Regions from separate parts of the Homo sapiens genome. Here regions 1, 2, 3, 5 and 6 are each linked to region 4. Evidence: promoter capture Hi-C in 16 types of primary human blood cells and fetal thymus (Javierre and others, 2016). All regions are on one chromosome and are shown on one strand. Each heading gives the region's core, a stretch centred on a gene start or on the middle of the fragment in contact. The rest is flanking DNA. Distances are from core to core; before and after follow the strand shown. Region 1 overlaps LINC02942 (long intergenic non-protein coding RNA 2942). Region 2 overlaps CD55 (CD55 molecule (Cromer blood group)). Region 3 overlaps LINC02942 (long intergenic non-protein coding RNA 2942). Region 4 holds the start of C4BPA (complement component 4 binding protein alpha). Region 5 overlaps CD55 (CD55 molecule (Cromer blood group)). Region 6 overlaps LINC02942 (long intergenic non-protein coding RNA 2942).

Region 1 (2,760 bases), core at 36-2,535, 160 kb before region 4:
ATGATTCCTCTGTTTATTCCACAGGGCTGGGTCATGATTTCTTGCTGTACTCAAGCTATGACCCTGCCCTTCTCACTGCATCCACCCTTGGATTATTACCCTCCTACTTGGCGAAAGTGGAGTGCATTCAGTGCAACCCCACCCATATTTCTTCCTCCTATTATTTCTTTGTCTGTGACTATGTGACAATACCTCTCTTATTTCCTTTCTCTTTGTCTTCCTTTGGGTGTTTCATCCCTCCATTATAACCTATCATCACTAATTGACTTTAAAACACTCTATAACATGAAATCGATTTTGCTGGTAGTTGGTGCCCCCTCATATTACATCCTGTTTTTCTTCTTCCTTTCAATATAAAATTCTCTAAGTGCTACTTTTATTTTTCATTATAGGTCTGGAACTGAACTGTCAATTTACTCCCAAACTGGATGGCCATTCTCTCGATAATGATGTTATTTTCAGGCAGGCTTGAAATCCTAGTGTTTTTTTTCTTTTCAGTCCTCATTTCCTATCCTACAACCCGCAATTTACAATTTAGAATCATTAATCCCCGTAAATTGGTTACTGAATTGGTTATTAATTCATGTTTATTTATGTCTAATTCTATTTATTAGTTTCATCAATTCCTTCATGAACTGTTCATCATGATTTGGGGGGCAATAATTTTGATTTTTCAAAATATTACACTAAAATATTATTTATGTTGGTTACCAAGTTGTTGATGTCCCCCTTACATTTTATGCTCAAGGTGAGTACCTCACTTGCCTCACCCTGGTTTCAGCCTGTGGCTCGGGGTGCTGCATGAACAGAAGCCATTGAGTGGACTATTTTGGACTCACCAGAGTTGCATTTTGCATATGCATATGCATCTGCAGGTGAGCCCATGAGTTTTCTGACTTGGTTCCTTCTCTTCAGGGTCTTAGGAACTGAAGGAACATGTATTGTATCCCATTCTTTCACCTTTTAGAAAATGCTCTGAAGATCTTCCAGAAAGATCTATCACATATTTACAAGAAGCTGAAGTTTTTGGCAGTGTTCATTGGTTTGGTGTGGTGTCAAGGATGAAAACAATACTTTATAAAATGGGTGTGTTGTGAGTGAGAGGATAAAGATGATATAGAAAAAACACCGTGCAGGTGAGTTGATACCTAATTTTTATTGCCTGCACATTGGGAAGCAGTGAAGGAGTTATTTCAGGATCAACTTGATACATTTTCAGTCAACACAGATGTGGGGAGCATTGAAGAGGACTTTTAAAGGGAATCTTGAGTTTTTTAGATGCCACATATAAGTAAGATCATGCAGTATTTGTCTTTCTTTGCCTGCCTTATTTCAGTTAGCATAATGTCTACCAGGTTCTCCGTGTTGTTACAAATGGCAGGACCTCCCTCTTTTTGAAGCCCGAATAATATACCATTGTGTATATATATCACATTTACTCTATCCATTCATCCATTAATGGGCACATAAGTTGATTCCATTTCTTGTCCATCATAAATAATGCTGCAGTGAATGTGGAAGCACTGATATTTCTACAAAGTGCTGATTTCCTTTTGTTTGGGTATATATACCCAGCATAGGGATTGCCTGGTCATATAGTAGTTCTAGTTTTAATTTTTTGAGGAAAATCTATGTTTTTTTTCATAACGGCTATACCAATTTACATTCACACCAATAGTGTCTAAGGGTTCTCTGTTCTCCATATTCTCTCCAACACTTATTCCTTGACTTTTTTATAATGGCCATCCTAACAGGGGTGAAGTGATAATCTCATTGTGGTTTTGATTTGCAGTTCCCTGAAGACTAGTGATACTGAGTACCTTTTCATATAACTGTTGGCCATTCATATGCCCTCTTTGGAAAAATGTCTACTTCATTCCTTTGCCCATTTTTAAATTGAATTATTGAGGGTTTTTTGCTATTGAGGTGTGTGAGTCCCTTATATGTTTGGATATTAACCCTTTGTTAGATATATGGTTTGCAAATATTTTCTCCCTGTCTGCAGGCTGCCTTTTCATTTTGTTATTTCTTTCGCTATGCAGAATCTTTTTAGTTTGATGTAATCCTACTTGTTTATTTTTGCTTTTGTCACTGTGCTTTTGGGGTGATGGCCAAAAGTCATTTCCAAGACCAGTATCAAAGAGCTCTTCCCATGTTTTCTTCTAGGAGTTTTAAATAAAAACAGAGAGTAGAACAGTGGTTACCAGGGGTAAGGAGGGGGAGGAAATAGAGGTATGTCAAAGGGTACAAATTTGCAGTTAAATTGGATGATAAGTCTAGAGCTCTAAAATACAGTATGGAGACTATGGTTAATAATATTGTATTGTATACTGAAAATTTGCTAACAGAATAGATTTTAGGTGCTCTTAGCACACATAGGTAACTATGGAAAGTGATGAATATTTACATTTGTTTGACTGTAGTAGTTATTTCACTGTGTATATGTACATCCAAGCACCATGTTGTACCCATTAAATATATAAATAAATAAGAATCTTGATATAAATTTTGAGCCGTGGAAAGAGAATTTATACCAGTGGCAAGGTGGCCCTGGAAGTAGAATGAACTATGCCTGGAAAAGCTTGAAGTTTAAAGTTAGAGGTGACCATTTAGTAAAAGGTCTCTAGAGGTACACCAAATATACATTTTGTCCTAATAGCAGATGGCCAAGTATTAAAGCATAGTATTTTCTCAAAGTAGAAGATGAGGTTTACAATAGTATCATGAAATGCACTGCAGGAAGAAAATTAGAAGTTTCAC
Region 2 (2,764 bases), core at 263-2,762, 220 kb before region 4:
TGAGTTCTAAATATGGGCTTCACAGAATAATAGAATGTACTTATATTTAAAGGGTTCAAAGTACTTCCCAGATTTTGTGTTCATGACCTAACCAATATCTGTGTTTCGTATAGGAGACAAGTGATACTGATATTTTTACTTTATAAAGAATAGGGACACACACAGAGTAAAATAGAATTATTTAATTTACAGATATGAAATGAGAAAATAAATGTAAAGTTTTCAACAGTGTCTGAGACATTGATGGTACTCAATGAATGAGTTCCTTCTCCCTATACAGAGAACTTATCAAAGAACTTAGAATACTTTCACACTAGGAATGTCTTTAACTCATGCTGTTTTGTAACAGCTTGTTTGCATATAGAAAAACTCATGCAAATTCATTATTTAGGTCAACTAAAGATTGGTTTAGTATTTAACATTTGAAGATTTCTGCAAGTATCATCATCTCAAATTTTTTTATTAATCACATTTAAAATTTTATATTGAATCACATATTTACTGAAATCAGAATTTAGAGAATTCTGGTGGTTTAAGAAATCTTCCTTTCTTGCCCCCATTTTACTAAATTTAACTGTGATGAGCTCATGATGAAGGGTCTTTGAGGAGAGGGATTGTTTTAATTGCTACTAGCTGTGAATACCAGTCATGAAACTAACAATCTCACCTTAAGTCCTAATTTGTTTTCTCATTTCCTAAATACAGGGTTTTAGTATGCCCAAACTTACCCTGTGTTACATGAGAAGGAGATGGTTGCACCAAATAATATGCCACCTGGTACATCAATCTGACCATTTCGTATTTCTCCCGGATTAGGGCATGATTTCTCTAGAATAGAATACAAATTGATTTTTTAAAATTAAATTATCAGGCATACACACAAAGAAGGTAACTATGTGAGGTGGTAGATATGTTAATTAGCTTGACTGTGTTAATCATTTCACAATGTGCACATATATCAAAACATCATGTTGTACACCTAAGATAATATTTGTCGATTATACCTCAATAAAGCTCAGGTAAAAATTTTGAAAAAATTATCAAGCACATATATGTAAATTCATCATCTGAACCATTGATATTTCTTATCCTTAGACTTTTTTTTTTTTTTTTTTGAGATGGAGTTTTGCTCTGTTGCCCAGGCTGGAGCGCGGTGACATAATCTCAGCTCACTGCAACCTCTGCCTCCCAGGTTCAAGGGATTCTCCTGCCTCAGCCTTCCAAGAAGCTGGGATTACAGGCATGCGCCACCACACCCAGCTAGTTTTTGTATTTTTAGTAGAGTCAGGGTTTCATCATGTTGGCCAGGCTACTCTCAATCTCCTGACCTCAAGTGGTCCACCTGCCTCTGTCTCCCAAAGTGCTGGGATTACAGGTATGAGCCACCATGCCTGACCCTTAGACTTCTTTAATTCTAATTTCTCTTTATAATAAGTTTTGAAAAAGCAACGAATTTAGAATATATACTTGTTTTATTTTAGGTAACCTCAAACTAATTAAATGTGAAATTTTTGAATGAATAAGTATTCCTACCACATAAATATTTAGTCTAATTCAAAATAAATTGACACTCATGGTCCTATCAAGAAACATCCTATATAATAATATATACACATAGAGTTCTAGCATGAATGAAGGAAGGGATACTATTTCCCCCAAACACCAGATGGTTGAAAATACTTTAAAAAATTTTACTCACTTTTACAAAATTCGACTGCTGTGGACCATTTTAAATTCTGAAGGCAAGTTAGTTTTGGTGATAGAGAAGGTTCTCTTCTGTAACCTGGACGGCACTCATATTCCACAACAGTACCGACTGGAAAATAATTCTGAGTGATATAAGGCTGTTTGAGGGATGCAGAATTTAGCCTTGTTGGCACCTCGCAGCTACCTAAAAGTATTAACAAAAGCAGCAACAAAAAATGTAGTATCAATTTTTGTTTTATAATCTATATTTAATTATCTGGACCCTAATAACCCCCTTTCTTTACTGCTTTGCGCATATTTAGTACTTAACTATATTAATATCACCATGGCACTTGCAATGTAGCAAATGTATTCACATGTATACTTTGTTTCCTAGTTACTAGAGGCTTAGGAAGTAGAGTTGGTACACACATATCACTATCCCCACTTAAAAAAAAAAAAAAATTTAAGTTGCCTGGCCCAGTTCTGGCATTCAATAAATGTTGGTTTCCTTACCCTGCCCTAAAGAACTACACAGCACCATACAGTACAGGAATAGGGTATTTCCAGACCCCTGGACTAATGTCCTGCACAACAATAATAGCAGCTAATATTTATTTACGTACAAACTCATTTAATTCCCATGAGCCCTGGGGGCAAGGATGAGTCAATTGTATACATAAAGTATTTACACCTGTAAACAGATTGCCCACAAATTGTATACATAAAGTATTTACATCTGTAAACAGATTGCCCACAAATGTGAATCTAGAGAGGCATGGTCAAGTGGAAGGGTCATCATTGGATTTGTAGTCAGAAGACCCAAGTTTACACCTTGGTTTTGGCGTAAAAGCTGCTGCTCTTGAGGAAGTTATTAAACTACTGGGGTCTGTCTCCTCCGCCATAAAAAGAGTGTAAGAGCCCCAACTTACCTCATAAGGTTGTTTGGAGGATTGGATAAAGTAATAACATGGGGAAGAGTTAAAACATGATACATGTGCAAAGACTATGTACTTCATCCTACTGCCTCTATTGTGGATAAAAATAAAAAGTTAAAGCCTATTTCACGCATGGCTTC
Region 3 (2,776 bases), core at 209-2,708, 200 kb before region 4:
TTCTTTTTGTCCGTGTTTGTTAGTTTTGTTCTCTGTATTTCATGTTGGAGGCCTCCTCAAGCATCTTATGATCCATAATGTTTCCTTCAATATTTACAAATGAGACTCCAACAAGCTAGTTGTAAACTGTGTGTGTTTCCTGGTTGGCTTCAGTGTAGGGTTATTGGGTTGGGAACTTGACAGTGTGGGAAACAACCCCATATGTTAGCATCTAAAAGTATTTTCTCTTAGTCTCATTCATTTCCCTAAAAAGAAATCCTCTGAAGTCTCACCTGGAATGGAACAGAGAGGTATAAGCCTGGCTACCAACATTCTGGGATCTTAGTCTCACCAGGGAGTTACAGGTCTCACCATTCAATGTTTGCCTTTCCTACCCTTCTTCTTTCACTGTCAGTTTTCCTAGAGTTGAGAACTACTCTGATTTTGATTTTTCCATTTAATGCCCCTTGCCTCTTCTCTGGATAGGAGAAATGGCAAAAACCTTCTTTGTCAAACAGCACTTCAATTAGAAGCAAAACCATTAGTGCTTTGTGCGCACATTGAGCAACTGGGATCCTTCAGGATTGGCTGCTCTCGAGAAAGAAAGCTTCCCACGGGTCACCACACCCCACCCCACTACTTTATCCACAGGGAAGCAGCTGTATCAAATGGCCAATGGTCCTAGTTCCTGGCAGAAAGTAAAAGCATGATAATAGTCTCCTAAATGCTCTGCATATGAGAAGCGTCCTTCAGGTCTGTCGACTTTATATACACTTTCAACTGATCCTCCTATTTTCAGTTTAATTCCTAATCTCCAAAGGTTCTTTGTGCCTCCAATTTCTGAGCCTTTCTGGGGTTCTGCAGCATAAACAGACTGGCTACAGGCAGGAAGGTTTTAGCTTTCTACTTTCTGCTAAATCGGTAACAATTCAAACACCTTTCTGCATCTCCTCTGCCATTTATTCTTTTGTGTTTTTATGCCTTTAAAAAATTATTTTTAATTTTAGTTAAAATGACACTGTAATTTTAGTGGCATTTTGAGAAAGAGTGAAAATAAATACGAATAGTCACTTATTTTTTCAACAGAAGTCACTATATATATATATACATATACTATGTATATGTGTTACTGCTTAACCATTTCATGAAATGCTCTCTATTATCATCTTAAGAACAGAGACTCCTTTATCAGCTATATGAATTTAGCATCTGGCTAGGAACTTTGGAAAAACTGGATATGTCAAAATAGAGAACAGAAGTATATGTTGAATAATCTTCTTTGCCCCTGGAATAGAAATACCTAGCAAATAAGGCAAACTGTGAATCAGCTTTTCCCTCTTAAATGGCTTAAAGAGGGGGCTCTTCTTAACCAAAATGCTACCTAAAATGCAACAAAGTACATCAACATATGTCTTTTGCAAAGCCAATTAACTTGTAATTTATATTTTTAAAAATATTCAGATATGACTCATGTTTCTTAATAAAATTCCTTGACAAAAAGTGAATTCAAGGCCCAGGGTTTGCTGGAGATAACAATCCACCTGGTAAGACATGGATTTAGACTAATTTTTAATCACTAATTTTATGTTTTCCATGTTTAATATGTTTAATCACTAATGTTTATCATGCTTCTACTTTGTGCCAGGAACTAGGACCATTGGCCATTTGATACCGCTGCTTCCCCATGGATAAAGTAGGGGGTGTGGTGGCCCATAGGGAGTTTTCTTTCTCGAGAGCAGCCAATCCTGAAGGATCACAGTTGCCCAATGTGCGCACAAAGCACTAATGGTTTTGCATCGGATTGAAGGGCTGTTTGACAAAGGTTTTCGCTATTTCAAATACGTAACTGGAGTCTAAGTTTCCAAAAGGTGCTCCCAAGATAAAAAATTTCTGTGATGATATCAGCTTGCACTTAATGGACAAACCAGATTCTTTGAGAAATGTCAGTAGTTTTAATTTAGCAGCTGAAATCTGAATATGTTTCAGTGTTTCTTAGTGAAGCCTTTTCTGCTGCGAAGGATCCACAAAGTCCAGTGTAATTTCAGGATAAGCAGATATGATGTGTGGAGGGTGCAAACTGGCAGTCTGCATGCTGCTTCCAGAACGTGATGTGCATTGCTTGCCTAGGCTCCAGCCTTTCCACCTCAGCTGCTTTGCCCTTTACCTAAGATGTGATTTATTTATATACCTGCCTAACTCATTTTACTTCAGGATGGAGATTAACTATTATCAGCTTCAGGAAGTCTTCCGTAACCTTCCCACACACCTTGAACAATATTCTATTATAACATTTAACAAATATCTGTAATTGTTTTTGCCACTAGACCATGGCCTCTCAAGGACAAAGCTTAGGAATGAGTCATATTACCGCTCAACTAATACAGTGCATGACATATAAGATAGAGTCAATAAACATATGAATGAATGGACAATGAGTGACGCTGCCAAGAACAGAGATTTAGTTTAGTTCCCTTTCCTTTGATTAGCAATCTTGGTCTAGGTGTTATGTACGTAACAGCCATCATCTTATGGGCTTATAATAAAATAAATAAAACAATAAAATAACACGTCACTTAGCTATAAATGAATGAGTAATGTCTCTTAATCTTTCCTATTAATTGTGAGTCATAGGATCTGGGCATGGTACATAATATGTCCCATCATAATATTAAATATATTGCAGGGCGGTACAAACAAACCATTCTATCAGGCATAGAGAAGAATGATGTAGAGCCTAAGACTAACATAAACTCAAAGGGCAGAAAATAAGACAAAATATGCAAGCAAGGTAACAAAC
Region 4 (2,700 bases), core at 174-2,673:
TCTCAATTATATCACTTACAAACTCCAGAAAGAACTGGCTCCCACACTTTCCCCACCCTTCCTAGAATCTCTTTTTTTTTTCTTTTTTTTTTTTTTTTGAGGTGGAGTTTCACTCTTGTTGCCCAGACTAGAGTGCAATGGCACGATCTCAGCTCACCCCAACCTCTGCCTCCCTGGTTCAAATGATCCTCCTGCCTCAGCCTCCCAAGTAGCTGGGATTACAGACATGTGCCACCATGCCTGGCTAATTTTGTAATTTTAGTAGAGACAGGGGTTCTCCATGTTGGTCAGGCTGGTCTCGAACTCCCGACCTCAGGTGATCCGCCAGCCTCGGCCTCCCAAAGTGCTGGGATTACAGGAGTGAGCCACCGTACCTGGCCAAATCTCTTTATTTTTCTATCAGCCCCTTTATTCTGTGCTCATACTACATTCAAACATATCTCTAAGCTTAATGCCAACCTTCTTTGATGCTTCTGCCTCTTCTGTAGTCTACTTTTTATTCTTTTGGTGTTACCATATTTAGAGATAGAATAGGAATCAGCAAAGAGACAAGTGGTTGAAGAATTAAAATGAGGACCAGAATGGTACTGTATCCTGGCCAACCAAGGAAGAAGAGAATTTCAAGAAGGAAGGGTTATCAGCATCGTCAAATTCAGAAAGTAAAGAAGATGAGGACGACTAAGACTGCTAGCTTCAGAAACCAACTGGAGGCTGGCCAGTGTCCTCCTTATTACCAAATCTAAACATCTTTGCTGTCAGTGGTGGAGGAGATTTGGAGTGGTTAATCAAATCTCAAAATAGAAATGGCCCCAGTTTTCAGAATGTAGACTAAGAAAAGCAAGCTTCCTGTGAACCCTTTGAAAAGTCTGATTGACCCCTTGCCTCAACTCTGATGTGGGAAGGTGGTGAAAGATCAACAAACCAACACATCTGTCTTTTAGATACAGTAACAAGAGCAACACCTTACACCTCTTCTTCTTTAGCTTATTTTATTAGAATGCAATATTATTCCTCCATTTATAATTTTTAAAACTTGAGGTTCAGATAGGGTTTAAAGTACGTCTCAAGTCTTACATCCCCCTAATACAGTGCTCCTGAAAAGATTTCTGCTGAAAACACCTCCAAGCTTTTGTCTCTGTTTTATCCTTCTAATCCTGCACTCCTTAAAGGGCCAAACCACCAGCCTTTCCTCCAAGCTTCCCCAAGGGTTTAGTAGTCCACCGACCTTTGGTAGTTGAGGAAGAGCAGAAGACTCTATGATGATATCTGGGATAGTTTCTCAAAGAAGAAAACTGCCTTGATCTATGTAGTCCTGGTTCCTCCCCAGATCAGAGTTTATCATAATACCCTGAAGTTGACTGGTAATTGCTCCACCAAAGAGTCCCTGAATTTCAGCCATGTGGTTGGCTGGTCAAGGACGGTTGATGGAAATAGATGGGCAGAAACTTTTGACGGGCCCAATGAATGATTAACAGCAGAAATAAAGCAGCACTGTTTACCTAAGCTCCTTCCTCTTTGCTAGTCCTCATTCTTCGTAACATGTCGCAATCGTTTATTTTCTCCTCTGCCAACCATTTCCCCTAAGTGGAAAGGTAATTTGAATTTGAAGCCAGAATTCTTTTTTCTTTTCATAAACACATAAGGGTTATGGCAAGACACAGTCCAGCTAGCCTGGAAACCTTGGATACTGCGAGGTTCAGAGAGCCTCCGCAAAAATGATCCACTTTCCATGACACTAGGTCCAGTATGCTTTCCTGGAGTTTGAAAACTGATATTCTTGCCCAGAGCTCGTCTCTATCCCACCCCAAGGAATTACAAAAGGTGGGGAATTTATCAAACATGCATTGGGTTTCCACTATGTGCTGAGTTATCTAGAACGTATTTGGAGTTCAGCAAATGTTAACTGCTACTACATGTCAGGCACCAGAGGGCCTCCAAAAATTGATCTATCCAGTGCGCTCAGAAGAACGCAATGAAGGACCGGCCATGTTTCCTCTCGCATAGATCTAAAAAGACCACAAGCACTTACATAGTCCAATTAAGCTACTAATCCTCAAGGTTAAGATTTGTGTGCTCAGAAGATTGCTATTAAAAGGCAATTCTTTCTGAGAACTTCACTTTTTCTGTAATAAATACTGAAAGTCCCAGAAGAGTTTCAGAAAAGGAACTAAACTACAACAGGTTGAGTTAATCAAGGAAGTTTCTACAGAAGATGTGAGATTTGGATAAAAGGTAGAAATTATTAGATAAAAGTGGTAAGGATATTAGATGTAAAGAAACCATGCGCTAGGTCACCAAGGTGAGACACTGATTTGACCAGAATGAAGATAGAGGAGGATTCCAGATTGCACAGTCTTGAGACTAAATTGGAAGAAATATCACCTTTAAAGCTGCTATTTCTTTAAAGTACCGTTTTCCAATGTATTGAAGTCCTTTCGTTTACTTTCCACAGTGACTCTTGCAGATTTTTCTCTCCAGGTCACCAAATTGTCACATTCCCTCTCAGCAGATGCTCTTACCTCCTACTTTACTAAAAATCATTCTACCTTAGCTTCATCAATGTCAAATTTTCCCTCCTATTCACTCCTCATTCCGAGGAGAATTGTTTCTTCTTTTCCTGCCTCATTTTCAATGCATCTCTCATCCTGAAATGTCCCTTCAATTTTGCCAATACCTCAAATTCCACCTTTCTTCTTTAGT
Region 5 (2,700 bases), core at 72-2,571, 250 kb before region 4:
ACATCCGACTGGTTTGACTCCAGAGGTTAAGCTCTTTCTTCTATATGATTTTGTCTTTAAAAACAATAAAAACAAAACCAACAGAAAGCAAGCATTCTCAATGGGGGTGATACCTGATGAAAGTTAAAAAAAAATTTTCCTTTTTTAAGTACAGAGTGCAGATATATATGTGATACATAAACTGATTTACAGTATATGTGTGGTGGAGGATGATCAAAAAAAAATGTCTAAAAAGGTCTTTGGTGAGAAGAGAGCAAGAATTAACGCACCCCCCACCCCCCACAAAAAAAAATTGGGAAACACTTATACAAAGCCAACGGAAGAAAAGATTTAAAATTCACAACACATGCTTCATTTACAAGGCAAATTAGAAAGTTCTGTAACATTAGTCAGTCTTTCTTCCTTAGCAGAATAGGAAAAAAAAATCAAATACTTCCAAAATTCAAAGATCATCTGTATCATTTTACTTACATTGCAGTGTAATTGATGAAACAATTTTCTTGCAGTAGAGTTAATTTATCTTTAAAGAAGAGTAACCTCATTCACATAATAAATTTAATGAATATAATTTTCAGGTTTATGTCCTACAAATATGAAATCACACACAAAAAATGTTGCCATATGTCCAGTTTAAGAAGGAAGGACTTCCTCTTTATTTTTTAACACAAGCTGGAATGCCGACTAAGGAAAGTTTTCTAGAAAATCAAAGGGTATAATACTTAAAGAATTTCAGGAAAAAAAGGCATTTCAAACCTTCATTGAGTGCCATTGAGCAGGTGAGAAAAAACTCATTTATTAAACTCATCACTTTTGTGATCATTAAATCATCAGACTTTCATTTGAAACACATTTATTTCTATTTAAAACAAAGTGAATTCCAACAGTTGGAATCTTTCAAGATAAATCTTTTAGCTTAGAAGTTCATTCAAAATATAAAATAACCACAATAAATAATAATGATAGTAATGATAATGTTTTTATTACTCTTTTCAGATCCAACACTGGATCATCCAGATTCATAAGACAAGTTCTTAAAGACCTATGAAGAGATGGAAATAACCACACAATATAGTGGGAGACTTCAACACCCCATTGACAATGTTAGACACATAATCAAGGCAGAAAACTAACAAAGATATTCATGACCTAAACTTGACACTTGACCAAATGGACTTAACAGACATCTACATAACATTACACCCAAGAACAACAGGATATACATTCTTCTCATCTGCACATAGCACATACTCTAAGATTGACCACATGCTCAACCATAAAGCAATTTTAAACAAATTCAAAAAACCAAAATCATACTAACCATACTCTTAGGCCACAGCATAAAATATAAATCAATACCAGGAAGATCTCTTAAAACTATACAATAACATGGAAATTAAACAACCTAATCCTGAATGACTTTTGGCATTCTGAAAATTAAGGCAGAAATCAAGAAATTCTTTGAAACTAGTGAAAACAAAGATACAACATACCAGAGTGTCTGGGACACAGCCAGAACAATGTCAAGAGGAAAGTTTGTAGCATTAAACACCTACATCAAAATGTTAGAAAAATCTCAAATTAACAAAGTAACATCACCTCTAGAGGATGTAGAAAAAACAAGAGCAAACCAACCCAAAAGCTAGCAGAAGAAAAAAAATAACCAAAATCAGAGCTGAACTGAATAAAATTGAGATGCAAAAATCCATACAAAAGATCAACAAAACCAAAGCTGGTTTTTTGAAAGAATAAATAAGATTGATAGACAACTAGCTAGATTAATAAAGAGAGAGAACATCCAAATAAACACAATCTCAGATGACAAAGGGGACATTACCACCAACCCCACAGAAATACAAAACACCCTCAGAGACTATTTTGAACACCTCTATGTACATAAACTAGAAAACGTAGAAGAAATGGTAAATTCTTGGAAAAATACAACCTCCTAAGATTGAACCAGGAAGAAATTAAATACCTGAACAGACCAATAACAAGTTCTTAAATTGAATCAGTAATTTAAAAAACCTACCAACCAGAAAGAGCCCTGTACCAGATGGATTCACAGACAAATTCCACCAAACATACAAACAAGAGCCGGTACCAATCATACTGAAACTATGCCAAAAATCAAGGAGGAGGGACTCCTCATTCTATAAGGCCAGCATCACACTGATACCAAAATCTGGCAAAGAGACAGGACAAAAAAAGAAAACTTCAGGCCAACATCCCTGATGAAAGTAAATGCAAAAATCCTCAACAAAATACTAGCAGATCAAATCCAGCAGCACATCAAATACCTAACTTACCACGATCAAGTAGGCTTTATTCCTGGGATGCAAGGTTGGCTCAACATATCCAAATCAATAAATGTGATTCATCACATAAACAGAACTACAAACAAAAAAACCACATGATCATCTCAATTGTTGTAGAAAAGGCTTTTGACAACATTCAACATCCCTTCATGTTAAAAGTCATCAACAAACTAGGCATCAAAGGAACATACCACAAAATAATAAGAGCCGCCAGGAAAAACCCACAGCCAACATCATACTGAATGAGCAAAAGCTGGAAGCATTCACCTTGAAAACCAGTACAAGACAAGGATGTCCATTATTATCATTCCTATTCAACATGGTACTGGAAATCCTAGCCACAGCAATCAGGCAAGGAAATAAAAGGCATCCATATAGGAAGAGA
Region 6 (2,700 bases), core at 40-2,539, 180 kb before region 4:
AATTCATGGGGAGGGGTTGGTTTTCATTTGCAATCCTTTAAAACAAATACGCTAAAATCCAAAAGAGGATAAGTAACAAGAAATGAGCACTCTGTAGGAGGGAATCTGAAGAGAGAGACACACACCCATGTTATGTCTATGGAAATACTTTACAGAGCTGTGTTTTAGACTTTGCATTCTTACTGCCAGAAATGGAAAGCTGAGAATGTGATGACTGTTGATTCTGAGCCACAAAGAAATTACTGACCAAGTGCCACATCTTTTCATTTCACTGATGCAGTTAATATTTTCTCATAACTGGAAACAACTTACTGACTGCCTGAGAAATCCCTTACTGCAAATACTAAAAGTGGGAAGCTCTGGAGAGGGCATATTCTGGCCAAAACAGCCATGCCCCTTAAACTAGGCATCTCATAGTGGCTTGGTCAGTGCTAAACCCGATGAGTTCCTGACAAACTCCTCTCTCTGGGTCTTGCCAACAATATTGCAGGAAAGAAATAGGATTTGCTAGTGAAGGGGGAAAGAGGGACACAAGAGCTACCTGCTGCTTCAGGAAAAGTGCTTATAAAGTGTACCATGCAGGTTGTGTATTACACACATCTGAACAACTCAAACCTCTAGAAAGCTTCCTTACTGGAACTAGAGAGAAAGCCACACAGGAAGATGAAAGGCAGGTGCGCAGCTAAGAACTAAGATACCACTGAGACCGTTACCTTCCACACAGCACTCATTGTTCTATGAGTATGAGAGAATTCATGGGCATTCCCTCTGCAGGACAAGTCCTTGTTCTGGTTTTTTTTTTTTTTTTCATATATATTTAATCCTCTACATCCTTAGAATTTCCATTCCCTGTGCCCACCGTATTTTGAAATCTTGTGGAGTTGATACGTTCCTTTTTCTGCAAATTTCTCTTCAACATCCAGAGAGCATGCCTTTTGGCAGGCTCAACTCTGCCCAGTTTCACATGGAAACAGGCTCCTGTGAAGAATGAAAAGAAGTATCTGATCTTAATTCCCTACTATGGAAAGAGACTGCCGGGTATCCTAAAATGCCTTTGGCTGGGCTCTAGGCATAACTGGATGAAACTGAAATGGAAAAGCATCAGCTGTATATAATGATACTCCCAGAGTCACAAAGGCAGACTTTTGCTTGGTTCTGGATACCCTACAGAAGACAACAACCTTTTCTCCTGAGGTTTGAGTATCAACAGGGTTCAGCAAATGTAAAATAATCATGTCAGTGACGGCTAATCTTTTTTCAGAAATCTCATTGACGCGCAGGCCTGCCATGTTGATTTTTTTCTGTCCTTAGTTAGACTAATAGGGGTCTTGAAAAATTATTCAAAATTCTTAGGCAAACTCAAGGGAAAGAAGAAATTATTAAGTGTAAAGTTTAAGGGTAAAGTCTTACCTCCTCTACAAATCCTTCCAGCCATGGAAGGAAATTCATGGTCTTTCTTGACCCCAAATTCCTATACATTGCACTGACATTCAACCAAAATACTCTCTGCTTCCACTTAGTTATTCTGATATTGATATCTCATCTCCTCAAGTAGATTTGACTTGTGAAAGGATGGAGGCCTTGTTTTAGCCTTCCCTTTATGTTCTAGTGACATCTGCTTCAATAAGCCCATATTACACTCTCATTAAATACTTGCTTAATTAATGAACAATTCTTCCTCTCTTCTCTTCTGGTAGTCCCATCAGACGAAATTGATTCCCTCAACATTTTGGACTCTAGAGCCCAACTAGCAAACTGTTTTTGTGATTCTGGCTATTAATCTTCACAAGACTGACTTCAGTAAAAATCAAACAGGCATTGTTTGGGGAAGAGCAGGCCATGGAAGAAAGAAGGCAAAACTTATTTTCCAACTGCAGTGACATTGAAAGCTAAGTAAAACACATAATGTGCTAGTTATATAAATTTTGCTAAAAGTTGGGGTTAAAAGCTTGTTAAGTAATATTCCTGTGGCACTCTGATTTCAACCTTAAAGGCCATTCCCATTTGCAAAATGAAAAGAAATTTGGTCACAAAAACCAATTATGGCCAATTCTAGGCATATTGGCTGTAGGTAATGTTTGTCCTAAATGTACTCACATAGTCACTCTCCTATTCCCACTAACAATTCCATTGCTTTCTCCAACATAAATTGTCCAGTTCTTTATTGTTATTCTTGACTCTTAAAAAAATCTGCTACAAGCAAATGTGGCTCGATAACTTTTCCCTTATTAGGAAAAATTCCTTAAAAATATGCAGAAAACGAGGAATGACGAACACAAATACATTGTTAATGACAAGATTCAAGCATTAGCCCAGTCCAGATGGAACTAACACATCTGTTTTTCAAGCAAATACTGACTATCATGAGGCCAGCTTCAAATGTAATAAATGTTTCTTGCAGAAATAAGAGGGTAATTATTGCTGCTCCAATCCCTTAGGGTTGCTTTATTTTAAAAGAGAGGTTATCTCACCCAGCTGTCTGGTGAGCTAATATCCTGCAATGAAAACAGCTAAAGGTCAGCATTGAATCTTAGTCCTGAGACTGTGATGATGCTTTCACTTTAAAGGTCTGGGTTTACCTGGAAAGCGAAAGCAAATTCCTCAGTAAAAGGAAACGTGGCACGACTATGCTTCTATTTTATAAGAGAATCTTCAAATGGAACCCAACAGCTAGTCTCCCAGATCCACATTCTACTTAAG

Evidence for each region. The method cuts DNA at HindIII sites, captures the fragments that hold promoters and counts their contacts. A CHiCAGO score of 5 or more calls a contact.
Region 1: a contact is called between a fragment that was not itself captured here and the fragment with the promoter of C4BPA in region 4, in 2 of 17 cell types (monocytes and M2 macrophages). The highest score is 6.2, in monocytes.
Region 2: a fragment that was not itself captured here is called in contact with the fragment with the promoter of C4BPA in region 4 in 7 of 17 cell types (monocytes, M2 macrophages, M1 macrophages and 4 more); the score reaches 8.4 in monocytes.
Region 3: a contact is called between a fragment that was not itself captured here and the fragment with the promoter of C4BPA in region 4, in 12 of 17 cell types (monocytes, naive B cells, M1 macrophages and 9 more). The highest score is 9.6, in monocytes.
Region 5: a contact is called between a fragment that was not itself captured here and the fragment with the promoter of C4BPA in region 4, in 12 of 17 cell types (naive B cells, neutrophils, monocytes and 9 more). The highest score is 9.7, in naive B cells.
Region 6: a contact is called between a fragment that was not itself captured here and the fragment with the promoter of C4BPA in region 4, in 10 of 17 cell types (M2 macrophages, total B cells, erythroblasts and 7 more). The highest score is 8.6, in M2 macrophages.

What each region holds. Positions count from the first base shown.
Region 1 is chr1:207,265,817-207,268,576 of GRCh38, reverse strand. The region is part of intron 2 of LINC02942 (long intergenic non-protein coding RNA 2942); the gene reads right to left. All of the region lies in intron 1 of LOC107985251 (a long non-coding RNA gene), which reads left to right. Among named protein-coding and RNA genes, the nearest start is that of LINC02942, 27 kb to the right of the region's middle. The HindIII fragment of the contact is 2,596 bases long and covers 1-2,583 here.
Region 2 is chr1:207,323,686-207,326,449 of GRCh38, reverse strand. CD55 (CD55 molecule (Cromer blood group)) reads right to left here. Exons shown (of 10, transcript NM_000574.5): 3 at 1,700-1,891; 4 at 729-828. Among named protein-coding and RNA genes, the nearest start is that of CD55, 3.4 kb to the right of the region's middle. The HindIII fragment of the contact is 4,911 bases long and covers 1-2,764 here.
Region 3 is chr1:207,304,637-207,307,412 of GRCh38, reverse strand. All of the region lies in intron 3 of LINC02942 (long intergenic non-protein coding RNA 2942), which reads right to left. The region is part of intron 1 of LOC107985251 (a long non-coding RNA gene); the gene reads left to right. Among named protein-coding and RNA genes, the nearest start is that of CD55, 16 kb to the left of the region's middle. The HindIII fragment of the contact is 1,740 bases long and covers 589-2,328 here.
Region 4 is chr1:207,102,956-207,105,655 of GRCh38, reverse strand. C4BPA (complement component 4 binding protein alpha) reads right to left here and starts at 1,423. Exons shown (of 12, transcript NM_000715.4): 1 at 1,226-1,423. The HindIII fragment of the contact is 2,080 bases long and covers 1,199-2,700 here.
Region 5 is chr1:207,349,829-207,352,528 of GRCh38, reverse strand. The region is part of intron 9 of CD55 (CD55 molecule (Cromer blood group)); the gene reads right to left. Among named protein-coding and RNA genes, the nearest start is that of CD55, 30 kb to the right of the region's middle. The HindIII fragment of the contact is 2,902 bases long and covers 1-2,700 here.
Region 6 is chr1:207,284,423-207,287,122 of GRCh38, reverse strand. All of the region lies in intron 2 of LINC02942 (long intergenic non-protein coding RNA 2942), which reads right to left. All of the region lies in intron 1 of LOC107985251 (a long non-coding RNA gene), which reads left to right. Among named protein-coding and RNA genes, the nearest start is that of CD55, 36 kb to the left of the region's middle. The HindIII fragment of the contact is 1,323 bases long and covers 628-1,950 here.